Regions from separate parts of the Homo sapiens genome. Here all the other regions are linked to region 2. The links are contacts of gene promoters, found by promoter capture Hi-C in blood cells and fetal thymus (Javierre and others, 2016). All regions are on one chromosome and are shown on one strand. The core of a region is centred on a gene start or on the middle of the fragment in contact, and the rest is flanking DNA. Distances in the headings are between cores, read along the strand shown.

Region 1 (4,782 bases), core at 1,560-4,059, 170 kb after region 2:
TGTAGTAAAAGCAGTGTTTAGAGGGATATTTACAGCACTGAAGACATACAGTAGAAAGAAGGAACATGTAAAATCAATGCTATAGTCTTCTACTTTAGGAAACTAGAGAAAGAAGAGCAATTTAAGCCTGAAGTAAGCATAAGAAAATAAATAACAAAAATTAGAGAACAAGTCAGTAAGATTTAAAACAGGAAAACATAGAGAAAAATCAACAAAATTAAAAACTGTTTTTTAAAAAATCAATAAGCTTCTAGCCAGTCTAACCAGGGAAAAAGGAAAAGACATTAGACACACATTTCTAATATCAGAAAGGAAATAGATATTATTATTTCCTGATCTCATGGACATTAAAAGGATAGTGAAGGATTACTATGAACAACCCTATGTCTACAAATTTATAAACTTAGGTCTAGAGCACGGTCTTTATTCCTAAGGTGTGACCTATCTGTTACAAACTATTGTCTCCTGAATTTCTGATGTGTTCACTAAAGCTCTTTGCTTTGGCTACATTGGAAATACAACATATATCTAGCCCTTTGTGACCTCCAAAATCTCTGTTCTGCTTTCAACCATTGAGCAGAGTTCTCTGCTAGTCCTTGCAGAAGTTTGCTCTGAGCACATGCGGGCCAAAGACCTGAGGGATGCCCTTCCACTGATCTGTGATACCTCTTCTTGGTAGCTCTCCTCTGTTCTCTACCTTTACTCACAAATTCCATCCGCCTTAGCATTTCTTTATTTTGATTTCTCTACCCACTGAAAATCTGTTTCTTCTACCCACCAAAAACGCTGATTTCTTACTGAGTTCCATTTTTCTATGCTGCATTTTGGAAATATCACCAGGCAGAAAGCCAAGGTGAATGTAGAACTTAACTTGTATGCTTTACTTTTTAAAAAAGAGAGCAGCCCTGTGCTGTATCTATGCCCAATGTCTGAAACCAGTTTGTCCAGTGGAAAGATAAGTTCAATACCAGCTTTTTATTATGGTTGTAACTGGAAGTTTCCTTATCTCTTCAAAAGTGGCTTCTGACACATTCTCATCCCTCTTTCTGGAATTCTAATGGCATTTATGTTAGACCTTTCTCTCGTACATCCTTTTATGCATATTTTTTGTATTCCCCGTCCCCCACCATTTCATCTTTCTGTGCTTCACACTGAATCTGTTTCTGACATGTCTTCCTGTTCTCAAATTCTTGATCCTCCTAATTATGTTTTAAATTTTGATTATTATATATCTTTTCTTTCTAAAGTTTTGTAGCCTTTGACCAACATTCCCCAAATTCTACCCCCCATTATATTTTTCACTTCTAGAATTTCCATTTGGTCCATATGTATATGTGTGTGTGTGTGTGTGTGTGTGTGTATTTCCAGTTCTTTGATGATATTCTCTTATCTTCTACTTTATAGAACATATTAAGCATAATTATTTTAAAATCTGTTTCTGATGACTCAGTGTTCTGGATCCCTGGAGATTCTGATTCTCTTGTCTGTTGTTTCTTTTGTTTTGTTTTCTTGTCTTCTTGTTTGTGTGGTTGTTTTTTATTGTGTTCAAGACAATAGATATAAAAACTATAAACCTAATTTGAGACTTAGTATGATGGATTCCTTCAGAGAGAACTTAATTTTGCTTCTGGTGAAAGGGTATAATTCTTAGGTCAGATTTTCATTGTTTGTGCTCTGTGGCTACTGTAACCACTAATTTCATATATTTATCTTTCCCTCTATATTCTTACCTTCTCAGGTTTGCTTACCCTTTGTGTGTATATGTGAAGTTACCAATGAACTTTTTGCTCATTTTTAAATTGGGGTGTTTATTTTATTATCTTATTATATTGTATGTTCAAAATATAAGACTTTTGTCAACATAATGTGAATATGCTCTCTCATTCAGGGGCTTCCCTGTTGAAGTATTTCAAAGAGAAGGAGATTTTAATTTTGATAAATTAATTGAAATTTATCTTTTTTTTTTCTTTTGTGGTCCTTTTTTTGGTCTCTCCTAAGGTTGTAAAGAAATTCTATGCTTCTAGAAGTTACATAGTTTAAGATTTTACATCTAAGTATATGATCTATTTGGAATCAATTTTAGTATATAGCAAGAGGTAAGGGTTGGATTTGTTTTTCCTTTAAGGATATCCAGTTGTTTCAGTTCAATTTGTTGAAAAGAGTATCTTTTCCGTATTGAATTACCTTGACCCTTTTGTTGAATAATAATTAACCATATATGTATGTGTCTATTTCTAAACTCTCTATTTTGTTTCATTGTCTATCCTTATACCAATATCACATAATCTTGATTACTGTAGCTTTACGGTGTATTTTAGAATCATGTAGTATAAATCCTCTAGATTTGCTCTTTTAAAAATTTTATGGGCTATTTTAATACATAAAATTATGTAGTGTAAGTACTCCAGATTTGTTCTTTTAAAGAATTTTTTGGGCTATTTTAGTACCTTTGCATTTTCATATAAATTTTACTATCAGTTTGTAATTTCTACAAAACAATCTGCTTGGATATTTTTTTTGGGGGGGGGGGTGGGGGATGGAGTCTTACTCTGTTGCCCAGGCTGGAGTGCAGTGGCATGATCTCAGCTCACTGCAACCTCTGCCTCTCCGGTTCAAGTGATTCTCCTGCCTCAGCCTCCTGAGAGGCTGGGATTACAGGCATGTGTGACTATGCCTGGTTAATTTTTGTATTTTTAGTAGAGATGAGGTTTCACCATATTAGCCAGGCTGGTCTCAAACTCCTGACCTCAGGGTGATCTGCCTGCCTCAGCCTCCCAAAGTGCTGGGATTACAGGTGTGAGCCATTGCATCTGACCTCTGCTTGGATTTTTGAATGAGATTACATTGACTATATAGTTTAATTTGGGGAGAATTGACATCTTAACAATATTGAGTCTTTTCATCCATGAACATGGTATATTTATCCATTTATTTAGGTCTTCTTTAATTTCTTTCAGCAATATTTGCTGGTTTTTAGTGTACAGATATTATATTTTGTTAAAGGTGCTCCTAAATATTTTATGATTTTATATGCTATTATAAATAGTGTTTAAAAATTTTAATCTTCTACTTGTTTATTGGTACTCTACAAATACCCTGCAACCTTGCTAAATTCACTTCTTAGTTTTTGTGGCTTTTTTGTAAGTTTCTTGAGATTTTCTGTATACCTGATTATGCTCTCTGCAAATAATTTTTTTTCTTTTCTTTCTAATTTGTATGCCTTTCTTTTTTCCTTCCTTCCTTCCTTCCTCCCCTCTCTCCACCCCTCTCTCCCTTTCTCCATCCCTCCCTTCCTTCTTTCCTTCCTTCCTTTCTCTTTCTTTTTCTCCTCTTTTCCTTTTCTCTCTCTCTTACCCTTCTTTCCTTTCTCCCTTTTTTTCTTTCTATCCTTCTCTTTTTTTTTTTTTTTTTGCACTGCTTAATATCTCCACTTGAATAGAAGTACTGAGAGTGGACGTCCTTGTTCTTTCTCCCAATCTTTGGGGAGAGTATTTGGGCTTTCACCATTAAATTATTATGTTAACTGTAGGTTTTTCATAGATTTTTTTTTTTTTACCAGATTGAGGAAATTACTGTCTGTTCTTAGTTTGCTGAGAGCTTTAATCATGAATGTCAGTTTTGGTCAAATGCATTTTCTCTTTCTATTGAGATGATTATATGATTTCTTCCCTTCATTCTGTTAATATGGTAAATTACATTGATTTTCTTGGCAACGTTATGCCTTTTATGCCTATTTTTTGTATTCCCCATCCCCCACCATTTCATCTTTCTGTGCTTCATACTGAATCTTTTTCTGACATGTCTTCCTGTTCTCAAATTCTTTAGCCTCCTAATTATGTTTTTAATTTTGGTTATTATATATCTTTTCTTTCTAAAGTTTTGCAGCCTTTGACCAACATTCCCCAAATTCTGCCCCCCTGTTATATTTTTCACTTCTAGAATTTCCATTTGGTCCATATGTATATGTGAGTGTGTGTGTGTGTGTGTCTGTGTGTGTGTGTGTGTGTGTGAAATGCAATCTTGCATTCTTGGGATGAACTCATCTTGTCATGCTGTATTATATTGCTAGATTTAATTTTCTAAGTTAAGTGTTCAGGTTCCTACATTTATGAGAGATATTGTTTTGTTTTATTTAATTATGATGTCTTCATCTGGTTCCATTTACAGAGTAATACTGACCTCATAAAATGAGTTGGAAAATGTTTTTTTCTCTTCTAATTTCTGAAAGAGTTTATGTAAGATTTGTATTATTTATTCTTTCAATGATTAATAGAATTTACTGGTGAAGCCATATGGACTTGGGGTTTCTTTGAGGGAAATGTTTTATGTTGTGAATGTAATTTTAATAGTTATGGGTTTTTTTTACTTTTATTGAGTTATAGTGAGTTATTTGTGTCTTTTAAGGAATGTGAGCATCTCATCCAAGTTTTCAAATTTATTAGCATGTCTGTAGGATCTGTAGTGATGTTCTACCTTTCATTCCTGATATTGGTAATTCATGAATTTTCAATTTTTTTTTTGTCCATCAGGATGCTGGGGCCTATCAAGTTTTTGGGACTTTTCAAAGAACCAGTTTTTGATTTTATTGATTTTATCTATGGATTTTCTGATTTCAATTTCATTGATTTCTGTTTCTTTATTGTTTTCTTCCACCTACTGAGTTCTGTTCTTTTTCTGTCTTCTTAAGGGAGATGCATAAACTTTTTATTTCAGATCTTTAATATTTTCTCATATAATAATTTTTAGCTATAAATTTCCATTTAATCATTGCTTTAGTTGCTT
Region 2 (4,669 bases), core at 2,071-4,570:
ATTGTGGGTCACTGAGAATACATCGAATCCCAGCCCACTAAACCCTTTATTGAAAATTGTAGAGGTTTGAGTTAACAGTGCTAGTCTTTTGTGACTTGCAGAAATTAAACTGAGGAATGTTGTTTGTATTGGTAATTTGAGCAGCTAAAAGAGCTGTCTCCTGGGGTGGGGGTGGGTGGCAGGGAGCTTAATTGTGTTGTGGCTGAATTTGGAGTCACCACTGTCGAAAGTGTTTTAAGGCTTTTGTTACAGAGAAAGACCTAAAATGCTTAAATCTCACTTGAATTGCACTCTCTTCTAAACTTCTCAAGATTAGGATTAAACCAGTCAAGCTTGCCTATTATTGGGCTCTTTCTCACTTTACTTCAGAATTTTTGTTGCTTTTTAAAAATTAAAAATGGGGTATTACCCAAAGAAAAAAGTCTTGACTAATATCGTCTTTCTTAAAGCTCTTTTGTTGTTAGCAATAGAAATGCAGCACCACCTAGTTTAAGCCCAAAGCAGGATTTATCATAAAGTATATAAAGAGAGGCCCAGAACTCAAGGAGAGGAAAGTGTCCTAACTTCAGAATAGGGAGAATTCAAACCAGGGCTTTGAACACAGGCAGGATATTCCCTCTGGTTCTTATCTCTGGTTCTTTGAGCAGCTTGGCTACATTATTAACTCACTGTGGAAGGGCTTTCTTGCTAGGCAGGGAAAAAAAAACATGGCTCCCAAGTTACAACATCCATCCCAACCAACAGACTGGGTCCCAGCCCTCTCTTTGGTCCAATATTTGAGTCAAGTAGTGTAACAACTGTGGCCAGGAAACAGAGCAATGTTGCACTAAATCATTTCTTACAGGACTCGTGTAAATCACAGGTGCTCAAATTATTATCTGGGGATATCTAAGGCAAAATTAGAGTTTACCTGATGTGACTGGGCAGGATGAGCCAAGGGAAGACTGAGAACAAGGAGATGAGGTTAGGGAGGTGGCCAGCCATGGTTCATGCAGGTCCTTGATTGGTTAGGGTAAGATTCCAGAGCACAGTTGCCCAGTGGAAATGTAACATGGGCTGGGCATGATGGTTAACTCCTGTAATCCTAACATTTTGGGAGGCCGAGGCAGGTGGATTGCTTGAGGCCAGGAGTTCAAGACCAGCCTGGGCAACATGGTGAAACATGCCCCAGAGTTAGGAGGCGGGGCCTTTGGGAAGTAATTAGATCATACCACAGCCCTCATGAATAGGATTAGTACCCTTATAAAAGAGGCCCTAGAGAGCTACCTTGTTGCTTCCATCATACGAGGACACAACCAGAACAAGGAAGTGGGCCCTCACTGGACATCAAATCTACCAGCACATTGATTTTGAATTTCTAGCATCCAGAACTGTAAGAAATACATTTCCGTCATTTATAAGCCATCCAGTCTGTTGTATTGTAACAGCCTGAACAGACTGAGACAGTAACAGAAAGGAACAAAAGTAACTGACCTGCTTCTTCATATTCATAAGCATGAAATGACAACCAAGGATCATAAGATACTTGAATAAAACTGGCAAGTTCAAAATAAATAAATAGAATGTACGCTAAAGAAACACAGTTCATGGAATAGAGATAACTTTTTAAAAGTTCAGATTAATATTCTGAAAGAAATCTAAAGTGATAATATCTATAAAATACTAACAGGTGACTGTAAAAGCAAAAAATAGTATGTTTTAAAACTATAATTCTAAAATAAAAAATCATGGGCTAGAAGAAAAAGTCAAGGAAATCCTGCAAAATGTAGAACAAGGGACAAAACGTTGATGAGTGAGAAAAAGGTTGAAAGACAGAGGTGACCCGCTAAGAAGGGCCAGTGTCCGTCAATAAGAATTTTAGGTTGAGAACAAAGAAAACAGAGAAGCAAATAAATAGGAATAGTGCTCCTATGGCTAAAGAACCATGACTTCAGATAGAAAGGTCTTACCCACTGCTAATCCATATGAATGGAAAAATACCCATATCTAACAGTATCCTGGAGGAACGTCACAATTCCAAAGACAAAAAGGAATGCCTAAAAGATTCCCAAAAGGAAAAAAGAGGGTACTCAAAGGAATGACAACTATATTGGCATTATATTTATCGGCTCACTAGATGCTGGAAAAGAAAGGAACAATGCCTTTTGAAAATCTCTGAAGGACAATGATTTTGAGCCCAGAGTTCTATAACCATTCAAATTAGCATTTAAATGGAGACCAATATATATATATTTTGATTTCCAAGGACTGAGGAACTTTATCACCTACAAACCCTTCCTGAAAGAACAGCTTAAGGATGTACTACAGCAAAACGAAAAGAAATCTAAGAAAGAGGAAGATACCAGGCTGCAGGAACAGAGGAATCCAGAGAAACCCTAGAGTGTTACTCGTGCAATAGGCCCCCAAAAGAAATAATGTGAAGACACAGGATCATTGTAGTGGATAAAGTTTTATTACAGTACTAAATTTAAAAATCACAGTATATTTACTTTTCCCTCAAGAGGGTCTGGGCACAGTGCCTCATGCCTGTAATCCCAGTACTTTGGGAGGCTGAGACAAGAGGATGGCTTGAGCCCAGGAGTTTGAGATCAGCCTGGGTGACACAGTGAGACCTGTCTCTACAAAAAAATAAGAAAATTAGCCGTAGTGACAGATAATTACATCACTGTTTCTACTGGGTCCAAACACTCTATTTGACCCTGCCATGAATATTTTTTATATCATCAGCCGACTATAGAAACTTGTTCTTGGTTTTCAGTGTTAAGAATTAACCTATAGACATTTTATGGAAGATTTAATTTGCATTAGAAACAGTGTGCTATAAACTCTGCCAATGCCAGGGCATGTTAAGAGGTATATAAAGTATAGGTAGAGAGGAAGACAAAGGAAAGGAGTAGGGGTGCCAAGTCCCTCACCTTACCCTGCAGAAAAGAGATACTTAGTGTGAGGTGGGGTTGGGGCTCAGGGGAGGGTGGCAGGAGAGTTTAGGAGAGGATAGGACACGTGGGTGGAAAGTGAGGTGAATGAGGGCTGGGAGGTTGCAGGGAGCCCTGAGTGGAAAAGGCGGGGCAGAGCAGGGGGTACTGAACTGAAGAGAGTGGAGCAGAGCAGGGGTGTGCTGGGTGGAAGGGGTGGTGCAGAGCAAGTGGTGCTAAGCAGAGGGGGTGGGGCAAAGCACGGACTGCTGAGTGGAAAGGGCAGTACAGAGAAAGGAGTGGTGAGCGGAAGAGGCGGGGCAGAGCAGGAGGTGCTGGGCAGAAGGGGTGGGGTAGGGGGCGAGGGCAGAGCGCCCCCTCGTGGCTGGGGCGCCTGCGCAAACCAGCTGCCTCACGAGCACTGGAGCTTGCGTTACTTGGCCTCACCTCACCTGTGCTGTCCACGCCTGGCTTTGTCTCACCTGACGCGATATGCCTCTCCTGCGTGGGCGCTGTCCTGCCCGCCGCCACTACCGCCGCTTGGCCCTGCTCGGCCTGCAGCCCGCTCCCCGCTTCGCCCACTCGGGGCCCCCGCGCCAGCGGCCCCTGTCTGCCGCGGTGAGTTGAGGCCCAGCCATCATGGTGGGCGGGAAGCGCGTGGCCCTGGCGGGGCGCCCCGACGGGTGGGGAGAAGGGAGGACACGGCGTGCAGGCCTCGCGTGGGAGGCTCTTGTGGCTTGGTCGCCGTTGGGGGAGGTTCCTGTGGCTTGGTCGCCTTTGGGGGAGGTTCCTGGGAGAGGGTCGCGGTGAGGATGCCGTCGTCGGGCACAGGGGCGGAAAGCCCGGGACCCTGAGGAACGCGCGGGGATTGGGCCTCCTTCGTTGTTACCCTTTACCGGCACCTGGCTCGGGGGCGGGGCTGTGGTTTCGCGGAGGAATGATTTACCATCCTCGGACGTCCTCGGCACTGCGAAGATCTAGCGTTTTCGATAAAATGGTGGAAATCCTGGGCCACATCGAAGTTCCAGAGTGCGAAGGTTGGAACCGGAGACCCCTTAGATGAAAAATGAATTAAAAAAAAAAATCAGGTGATCCATGAATCGATTTTCAGCATTTTAGATTTCACTAGGCGCCTGTTTCTAGGACAACGGTCTAGGTGCTCAAAATGTTTTTTTTAAGCACTTTTTGTTAGGCAGCAAGTCACTGGCCTAGGAAGCCATACTCAGCAGCGCGTGTCATCTTCTCTTCCAGGAAATGGCTGTTGGACTTGTGGTGTTTTTTACGACCTTCTTAACACCAGCTGCATATGTGCTAGGCAACCTGAAGCAGTTCAGAAGGAATTAGATGGAAGATGATGTTGAACAGCTGTTAACGTCCAAAAAACTTTCAGAAAAAGCTGTGTTTTTGTTAACGAGCAAAATTGCCTAGTTGAGTTGATGCAACCATTGTGGTATTCACTTTCCTCATGTTTATGATGAATATTTTGCACTTTTTTAGTACTGTGCATTATATAGATGTATAGTCAAAAATGTTCTGCTTAAGTGTTAAATAAAACGGAAACACTTATTCGTGCTTGGTAATATGTGTGCAGATTATTTTCTAAACATCGTGAAAGCTGATGAAAATTTACCGAGAACTGCTGTGAAAGGTCTGACTTAGTGACTCAGGGAGTGACATTGTTACTATATGGGAGTGAATGTATCTAGTGACATCACCCTTAAAAGATTAGATGTGTAGCTGTGAGGTAATATAAG
Region 3 (4,858 bases), core at 553-3,052, 210 kb after region 2:
TTTAAAATGTTAGTTTGGAGACTTGCAGCTCAGAAAATAATATTAAAAAGCTCAAAAACAACAGATAAGACTAGAACCTACAACAGGTATATTATACTCTTTTTCTCTCCAGTCTCTCATTTTTATCAAAGACAAATTATTGTAGGATTGATGTGTTTGCAAATTAAACTTTAGTTTCATTATACTTGTTTTGATTATTTGCGTGAAGTGCAGCAAGAATAATTATTTGCCATATAAACTTTTTTTTTTAATTGGCTTTGCTGGAACTTTGTTTTGTAAGGATTCTCAGATTAGACTTTTTAAAGCTGTGAGCCTAGCTATGGATTCATCTGTGCCTGCAAACACTTGTATGAATTGGGTGAATTCCTCCCCTCTTGAAGTCCAAAGATAACTTGGGGCTCCTGGACCTGTTAGAAAGTGACAGTCTTTACTTACCATAGGTCAGGAACCCTGTACAAGGACTGCATAGACAGGATATGAGGGCAGTTTTTCCAATGGGGTTTTATCGGCTTTAGAAGTCAACCTCAATTTTTAGAAAAGCAGTATGAAAGCATGTCATTCTCATAAAGCCTTGATAAAATAACCAGTTTCCCCAGTTGTGTCCTGTTACAAAAGAAAACAGATTCTTATTGCATGTATGCAAACAACTATATTGCCATAAGTTAAGAATACTCACATATAGTTTCCAAATTCTGCAGAAATCAGGTAGAGAGAAAGAAACATGCTCAAAATTTTGCTTATAGGTTGTAGTTTACTCAATTGTTAAAAGTTGTAAATGGTTTAAAAGGGAAAAAAGTTTTCTTGACTCTGAAAAACAAAACAAAAAGGGTCAGCAGCATTTCTGGAAGAAAAGGTCATAAACAGATTATTTCAATCTCCTATTTGTTTAGTCCATGAAATTAACTCCTGTTCTGCTTGATATTTATGGACACATTAGATCTCCAAGAGGGTCTTACAAGTTTTTCCCTCTATTCTAATGGCTCAGTCTCCAGGTTGTCAGAGACCTGCATCCAAGAGTATCCATGAGAGTCCTTTAGCTGATTATAAATCTTCTTTTGGAATAGATTAAAACAAGACAATTGTCTGTGGATGACAAGAGTCTTAGGACAGCCACAGTTAAAGATGCAATCAACAGGGAAATCTGGTCATTTCTGTGGCACACAATTTAATGTAACAATCTTAATTGTTATTGATAGCAGATACTTAGGCATATCAGAATCATAGGAATCTCATATAACTATGGAATACATATTAATCACACATTTATGTGACTATAATCTAAAAAAAGCTAAACACCATTTTAAATGTGATAGTGTTTCCTGTATGGTTTTGATACACCAAATAAGCTGCATATGTCTCTTTTGGACCTCAGAGGACCTACTACACAAAATGGTTAATTAGGTCAAAAAAGGCTTAATTCAGGATTTTATTTTGGAAAGCTTGTCAAATATCAAAATTTAAAACACTTGACATCACAAAATAGGACCACAGTTTATTTATTTAACCAACATGATTAACTCAAAGATTTCTAAACAGCAAAAATCCTTTAGTCTTTCACAGAGAGAGGACTCAGCTTTCTAAATAACCAGACCCAGTAAAGACAGCATGGCTGGGCATGGTGGGTTATGCCTGTAATCCCAGCACTTTGGGAGGCCGAGTGGGCAGATCACGAGGTCAGGAATTTGAGACCAGCCTGGCCAACACAGTGTAACCCCATCTCCACTAAAAATACAAAAATTAGCTGTGTGTGGTGGCACATGCCTGCAGTCCCAGCTACTCGGGAGGCTGAGGCAGGAGAGTCACTTGAACCCAGGAGGCGGAGGTTGCAGTGAGTTGAGACCATGCCATTGTACTCCAGCCTGGGTGACTGGCTGAAGCAAGACTCTGTCTCAAAAAAAAAAAAAAAAAAATTCTGTCTCTCTCTTTTTCCTGTAGGCGAATGAAAATCTTGCTCAAAAGGGAAAATGAAATTTTACCTTTGCATTAGTATATTAATACTAAAGCTAATTTCAATAACATTTGATGAAGCTATCTAATTTTAACCAGTTTGACCATAAGGTAAGATTTTTATAACCCTTTGCAAATTTTTTGTTTAAGAGCAGATAAATGCTCCAGGAAAACCCTATTATTCTGACACATGAGCCCAGATTCTGGCCCTGTGTTAGCAAGCTTTTATTTTAATATTTAATTTATGGAAAAACTAAATAATACCCTTTTAGCCAACTAGCTCATACACAGAATTTCTGTTTCAAGATTAATCTTTCACAAACCATCTCTAACTGGCTTAAACTTTCAGTTATATTCTATCTTTCTTTTAACCCAAAACAATCCTTAAACAACCTCTAAATTAGGCAAAATAGTTTGTCTTTTAAAAACTACATTCCCATGCCTTTTTCTTAAAAACACCTAATTTTAATTTTTAGTGTATGCAACTTTAATTCTGTACCAAGTGCAGAGCCTGGGAACTACAGGTAATATGTGACTCTTTTCCAGTATAGCTAGGGAGTGTGTCTAATTCTATATATCCCCAGGCCTTACCTAGAATCTAATGGCCCCAAAGCAGGCAAGTCAAACAGTTATCAAAAGTCATAGAAGCAGTTTATAATCTTAAAGCATCTAGCAAGGGCAGTTCCTGACCTGCCTAATTTAGACTGAATGCCTAAATTTTAAAGACATTTAATTTTATTTCATTAATAGTCTTTAAAACTGTCTTTATTTACCAAAGATTACTAAAGCCATGTGAACTAAAGTGTTTATTTTTCTGATAAAATATTTTATTTAAGCATTTATTTTTCTTTAAGCCAATTCATTGGATGTCTTTTACATATCTTGGTAGTAAGACATCACATACATACATGACACATATAAATACACAGACAGAGAAGCAGATCTGGTAGAGTTATAAGATTCTTCATTTGCCAGTTTTTAAGATTTTCTTCCTTTTTTTTAAATTAATTTTTGAGATGGAGTCTCTCTCTGTCACCCAGGCTGGAGAGCAGTGGTGTGATCTTGGCTCACTGCAACCTCTGCTTCCTGGGTTCAGGTGATTATCCTGCCTCAGCCTCCCAAGTAGCTGGGACTACAGGTGCACGCCACCATGCCCGGCTAATTTTTGTATTTTTAGTAGAAATGGGGTTTCACCATGTTGACCAGACTGGTCTCAAATTCCTGGCTTAAAGTGACCCACCTGCCTCAGGCCCCCAAAGTGCTGGGATTACAGGTGTGAACCACCACACCTGGCCAAGATTTCTTTCTCATTTTATTTTAGATAAAGCATCAATCTTTTGATTATCTGTTCTCTGCCCTAAATAATTATCAGTGAGGTAACTCTGATTTTGCATTTTAAAAGGGACAATTCTTAGGTGAAATAAGATAGATAATTTATATTTTACTTAAACCAAGGGAGAAATGGTGTGAGTAAAAGTTTAGGTGAGACAGCCAGGGAAAACAGATACCCTTACATGTGGAGATTTCTTTAAAGATGTAAGTTTTTAAATTGGGTTCAGGGTGGAGCCTTTTAAAGAACAAGGCCAGGAAAGCATGCAGTTTTTAGGGCCTAGTAGGTGGGCACAGCTGGAAGGCAGAACAGATCTCCCAAAATCAAGGATCCCATTTCCACACCAAATACTGGGTCCCCGCAAAGAGGCAAGTGCTATGAGACAAGACAGTGCAATGCTTTCACAGCATGTTTTATTGTAAGGACATTTCCCCAAGGCTGCTGGACAACCCAACATCAACTAGTCTGCTCTGTAATCAGCCCATCCCCCATTTCATACCTTCTAGTTGCCCAAGAGCATGGCTTTTTATGTATGTAAACACAAAAAAAAAGGAGTATCACCCTGTGGTAATAGCCACTCACTGTAAGCAACTGCTATTGGACATTTAAAAAAATATGCCTCTTATTTAGCTATTGCACATTAAGATTCAACATTTCTAAGTAATGCAAAATAATTTCTGATGCCCCCAAAAGTCAAAAAGATCAGGTAACATAATGCAAAACAGAACAGAGCCTCAGATTTTGGGAAGTATCAGTCTGCGTGTAATTCTTTGGGTTCTACTTGGAAAACAGAGGTTTCTCCCAAAACAGGAGTCTGTGGTGCCTCTTCTGTTTCTCTCAAGGAGTTCCAGGCTGTCAGAAATTACCTTAAGTCCTCTCATGCAGGGCAGTGAGGGCGTGTGTGCCAGAGGACAGAGTAAATGGAGAAACAATTCAATTGACTGAGAAAAAAAAAAAACCCAAAAACCTTTTTTTCAAAAAAACAAGATCCAAGAAGAGAAAAAAGCCTAATGGCCTTTTAAATGTATGTATAGCTTGGCTATCCCCTTTTAATTAATATCATTTACCATAGAGCTCTTTAAAAAAAACTCTTTTAAATCTTTAATTTCCAGACCATTGCCTGGCTGTTAGGGACAAACAGCCAATGCCTCTGGCATTTAAGCCTTTTATTCTCCCAAAGGGATTTTCCCAAGTGCAACTGTTACCAGTAAAAGGGGTCTTGATACAGACCCCAAGAGAGGGTTCTTGGATCTCATGCAGGAGGGAATTCAAGGTGAGTGGCAGAGTGCAGTGAGAAGAGAGAGTTTATTGAAAGCTACTCCATTACAGAGAAGGACATCCTTAAGTTTTTCTTGTATAGGGGTCATCTCTATATAAAAGCTAAGCTAAGCCATGTCTATGTAAGTGTGAGCAGAGAGTGTGACAAAATTTATATTCTATTGATTTAAAGAAAACTATCCTTGATGTTTTAGTGTGTGAATACATCAAACCATAACTATAACAATCTTGAAGCCATATTTTGTTATGGGTATTGGGACATCTGGACTTTCTGCTGTTGTGGGAGTGTCTTTGCCGGTATCT
Region 4 (4,421 bases), core at 1,778-4,277, 140 kb after region 2:
CAAAACATGTGCTAACATGTAAACTCATTTTTATTTTCATTTAGTGTTTATTTGGAAAGTAAACAAATCCAGTGACACTGTGGTTTTTTTTTGCTATCTACTTAATTACTTAATAAATAGTAATTGAACTTCTGACTCAGAATGAGGAAAAATTTTTTATTTCAAAATCTGAATGCTTCTTAGTTTGGAGTGTCATCTTCTGTCTTAGTCCGTTGGGTTGTAACAGAAATATAAACGGAGTGGCTGATAAGCAGTAAACATTTATTTTTCTCATTTCTGGAGGCTGGGAAGTCCATGATCAAGGTGCCAGCAGAGTTGATGTCTGGTGAGGGCCTGCTTTCTAGTTCATGGATGGCCATCTTGGTGTTGTGTCCTTAAATGGTGGGAAGGAAAGGGAATTCTCAGGGTCCTCCTTTATAAAGGCAGTAATCTCATACATAAGGGCTCTGCCCTAATGACCTAATTACTTCCTAAAGGCCCCAACTCTGAATACCATCACTTTGAGGGTTAGGGTTTAACATACTAATTTAAAAATTTTTTTAAGATACAGAGTCTTACTCTGTCACTCAGGCTAAAGTGCAGTGGTGCAATTATGGCTCACTGCAGCCTTGACCTACCTGGCTCAAGCGATTCTCCTTCCTCAGCCTCTTGAGTAGCTGGGACTACAGGCATGTGTTACCACATCTGGCTAATTTTTAAATTTTTTTAGAGACAGTCTCATTATGTTTCCCAGACTGGCCTCAAACTCCAGACCTCAGTGATCCTCCTGCCTTGGACTCCCAAAGTACTGGGATTACATGCATAAGCCACCATGTCTGGCAACATACAAATTTTGAGAGGACACAAGCATTTAGTCTATAGTATTCCACCCTATTTTCTGAAATTCATGTTATTCTCATATGCAAAACATTCATTCCATCCCAATAGCCCCAAAAATCGTAACTCATTTCAGCATGAACTCAAAAGTCCAAAGTCTCATGTGAATACCATCTAAATCAGATATGGGTGAGGCAATTTCCTCTCCAGCTGTGAGCCTATGAAATCAAACAAGTTATATGCCTCCAATATACAATGGTTGGACAGGCATAGCATAGACATTCCCATCCAAAAGGGAGAAATGGGAAAGAAAAAAGGTGTAACAGGTTCCAAGTAAGTCTAAAACCCAACTACATTATACCTTAAGGTTTGAAAATTACCTTTTTTGACTTGATGCTCCACCTTCCAGGCCCACTGGGGTGGAGGTCCCACCTTCCAAACCCATTGGGGTAAGAGTTCTGTCTTTTGGACCCACTGAGGTGGTGGCCCTGCATAGCAGCTTTGCCATGTAGGGGTTGGGCCCCCAAGACCCTGCCCCTGTGGCTTTGCGTGGCTCTATCTCCATGGCTTGCTGGGCATTGCCCTGGTGGGGGCTCTCTACAGTGATCCTGGCCCCCACAGTGGTTCCCTTCCTGGGCCCCACTCTGCAGGCTGGGGTCCGGTGCCCATGACTCTCTCAGGGTGGAGTTCCAGCTCTCCTGGGCATCCTTTGAAATCTAGGTGGAGGTGAATACACCCCCATGCCTTTGCTGGGTACAGTGCATGCTGCTCTGCCCAAAGGGCAGCTGAACAATGAGGCACTGGGGTATAGGACTGAATTTTACAATGTAAGAAGGTGCCTTGTGAGGGGGTGGCATGCCCTGAAGTCTCAAAAGTGCTGGTGGCCTCTCCTCTGAAACCATTTCTCCCCCAGGGTCCTTGCACTCTGGGTCTGTGATGGGAGGGGCAGTGCAGAGGATTTCCGAAGTGCCTCTGGGGTCATTCTTCCATTGTTTTGGACAATACCTCCTGGCTTCTGTTGAGATGGCTGACTAATCTTATTAAATGGTCACTTGGCTACACTCTCCCCATTCTCTTCCTAACAGGCTTCTTCATCCTGTCAATACAGATAGGCTGAGGGTTTTCCAAATCTTTAAGTCTTCTTCCTCCTTGATTAACAATTCTGTCTTTGGATCATTCTCTCTCCCCACATTTTATTACAGTATAAGCAGTCAGAAGAAATCCAGCTGGGCCTCTCTTTCAACACTTTGCTAAGAAATTTTCTTAGCCAAGTATCCAATTTTATCACTCACAAGTTCTACCATCCACAAAACACTAGGACATGAACACAATTCAGCCAAGTTCTTTGTCACTTTATAGCAAGGATGGCCTTTCCTCCACTTTCCAGGAATGTGTTCCTCATTTCTGTCTGAGATCGCATCAGAATTGCTTTTGCTGTCCGTATTTATACTAACATTCTCTTCAGGATCATTTAGGTATTCTCAAAGAAGATTGAAGCTTTTTCTACTGCTTTCCTCTTCTCTTTTTCAGCACTTGCCAGAATTGCTTTTAAAGGTCTATTCATGGCAATATAGGCTTTTTTCTAGCCTGCAGATCAAAACTCTTCCAGCCCCTACCTGTTACCCAGTTCCAAAGCCACTTCCACATTTTTAGCTGTTTGTTACAGCATCACCCCACTTCTCAGTACCAATTTTCTGTTTTAGTCCATTTGGGTTGCTATAACAAAAATTCTATAAACTGGATGACTTATAAGCAATGCACATTTGTTTCTTATAGTTCCAGGGGCTGGGAAGTCCAAAATCAAGGTGCTGGTAGATTGGATGATCTGTGAGAACTCATTTCCTGGTTCATGAATGGCTGTCGTTCTGCTGTGTCCTCAAGTGACAAAAGGGCAAGGGATTTCTCTGGGGCCTCTTTTATAAGGGCACTAATCACCTCCTAAAGGCTCCACATCCTAATACCATCACATTAGGGGGTTTGGATTTAACAGAAGAATTTTGAGGTGACACAAACATTCAGTCTGTAGCATTCTTTAAGTATGAAATCTCTTATGATTATTATATAGATATAATTAAAATATATATATGGGGAAATTATATCTTATATATCTGTCTGGCTTAAAATAATCAAAATACTATATTTATTATATATTATGTCCTTAATAAAACCATTTATTTGGAATCTAGTTAATTAGAGTCTCATCATGCCAGTCTGGTCCAAATTTCTAAGCTAGTTGGGTAGTAAAGCAGGGTGCTTTGAGATTAGTCGTATGTGGATTCACATCTGAGCTTACCTGCAAATTGCCAGTTAGTGAACTTGAGCAAGTTTTTTACCCCCTGAAACCAAGTGTCCTCATCTATAAAATGGAAATAATTCTTCTTGCAGTACTTTAAAATGCTGCTGTGAAGATTTAATGGGTTACATATATGTAAAGTGCTTACTTTAGTGACTGACAAATTGTAAATTCTCAATAAATACTGAATCCCTACAATTTGCCATTTTCTTCTTGGAGTTGAATGTTGAGTTGAATGTTTCACTGGAAAACTACTGTGGTCAGGTAGAGTTGCATCTGTTATTTTAAAATCTGTATCTTCATTTGTTCATGAGGAAATGTTTATAACCAGCTACTGTATACTAGGAATCATAGTTGGGACCCAAAACTAGTCTTGTGATATAGGAAGCACTTAAGCGAGGCAATATCCACCAGGGGCTCTCTGGGACCAAGTGGTAGGTCATGGTTCTGTTGTTTGAATTTTTATTGGAAGAAGCACAACTGGCAACTTGATCCTTGTAGCTGATTGTGTATCAAGGATAGAACACAATCCTTACTTAAGTAACCAGCATTCATTGAGCACCTTCTATATACAGGGCTTTGTGCTAGGCATTGTGAAAACCACACAAAAACATAAGATATGGTACTTGCTATGAAGCTTATGTCTAATTGGGAAGATCAGGCATATTTACATAAATCATTAGTTAACAATGTAATGTAGTACATAGGAGTACTAAATAAATATATTAGACAGTGTTAATTTATCAGAAGGAGGGAGCTGTATGGATTGAAATGATCAGAAAAGATTTTGCGTCACTTGGGCCAAGGATGAGTTTTAAATTATGGAGAGAGTTTTGTTTTGTTTTATTTTTCGAGATGGAATCTCACTTTGTTGCCCAGGCTGGAGTGCAGTGGCACGGCTCACTGCAACCTCTGCCTCCTGGGTTCAAGCAATTCTCCTGCCTCAGCCTCCCCAGTATGTGGGACTACAGGCACATGCCACCATGCCCGGCTAATTTTTGTATTTTTAGTAGAGATGGGATTTCATCATGTTTGCCAGACTGGCCTCGAACTCCTGACCTCAAGTGATCCGCCTGTCTTGGCCTCCCAAAGTGCTGGGATTACAGGCATGAGCCACCATGCCTGGCTGGACAGAGTTTTTATTGATAAGGTAAATGGGGCATTCTGGGAGGGGAAGCTGTTTTAACAAAGGAACTGTCCAGGTATGTTCATGGGTCAGTGATGGCTCTGAACAACGTTCATATAGCAGACCTGTGGAGATCAGCAGACACTATGTACAAGAAAGTGTCTTGGAACATCTGCACTTGAGAAT

Evidence for each region. Contacts are between HindIII fragments. The CHiCAGO score rates a contact against its expected background, and 5 or more counts as called.
Region 1: a fragment that was not itself captured here is called in contact with the fragment with the promoter of COX8C in region 2 in 3 of 17 cell types (monocytes, M2 macrophages and M1 macrophages); the score reaches 5.9 in monocytes.
Region 3: a fragment that was not itself captured here is called in contact with the fragment with the promoter of COX8C in region 2 in 1 of 17 cell types (monocytes); the score reaches 5.3 in monocytes.
Region 4: a contact is called between a fragment that was not itself captured here and the fragment with the promoter of COX8C in region 2, in 1 of 17 cell types (M1 macrophages). The highest score is 6.0, in M1 macrophages.

The regions. Positions count from the first base shown.
Region 1 is chr14:93,513,932-93,518,713 of GRCh38, forward strand. All of the region lies in intron 7 of UNC79 (unc-79 subunit of NALCN channel complex), which reads left to right. Among named protein-coding and RNA genes, the nearest start is that of UNC79, 85 kb to the left of the region's middle. The HindIII fragment of the contact is 5,128 bases long and covers 246-4,782 here.
Region 2 is chr14:93,343,862-93,348,530 of GRCh38, forward strand. COX8C (cytochrome c oxidase subunit 8C) reads left to right here and starts at 3,321. Exons shown (of 2, transcript NM_182971.3): 1 at 3,321-3,533; 2 at 4,167-4,495. The coding sequence starts at 3,408. The coding sequence ends at 4,259. It also overlaps a transcript of UNC79 not described here. RefSeq lists an enhancer at 1-412. The HindIII fragment of the contact is 4,764 bases long and covers 331-4,669 here.
Region 3 is chr14:93,552,462-93,557,319 of GRCh38, forward strand. The region is part of intron 14 of UNC79 (unc-79 subunit of NALCN channel complex); the gene reads left to right. Among named protein-coding and RNA genes, the nearest start is that of UNC79, 120 kb to the left of the region's middle. The HindIII fragment of the contact is 730 bases long and covers 1,438-2,167 here.
Region 4 is chr14:93,488,417-93,492,837 of GRCh38, forward strand. All of the region lies in intron 5 of UNC79 (unc-79 subunit of NALCN channel complex), which reads left to right. Among named protein-coding and RNA genes, the nearest start is that of UNC79, 60 kb to the left of the region's middle. RefSeq lists an enhancer at 1,409-1,908. The HindIII fragment of the contact is 1,433 bases long and covers 2,312-3,744 here.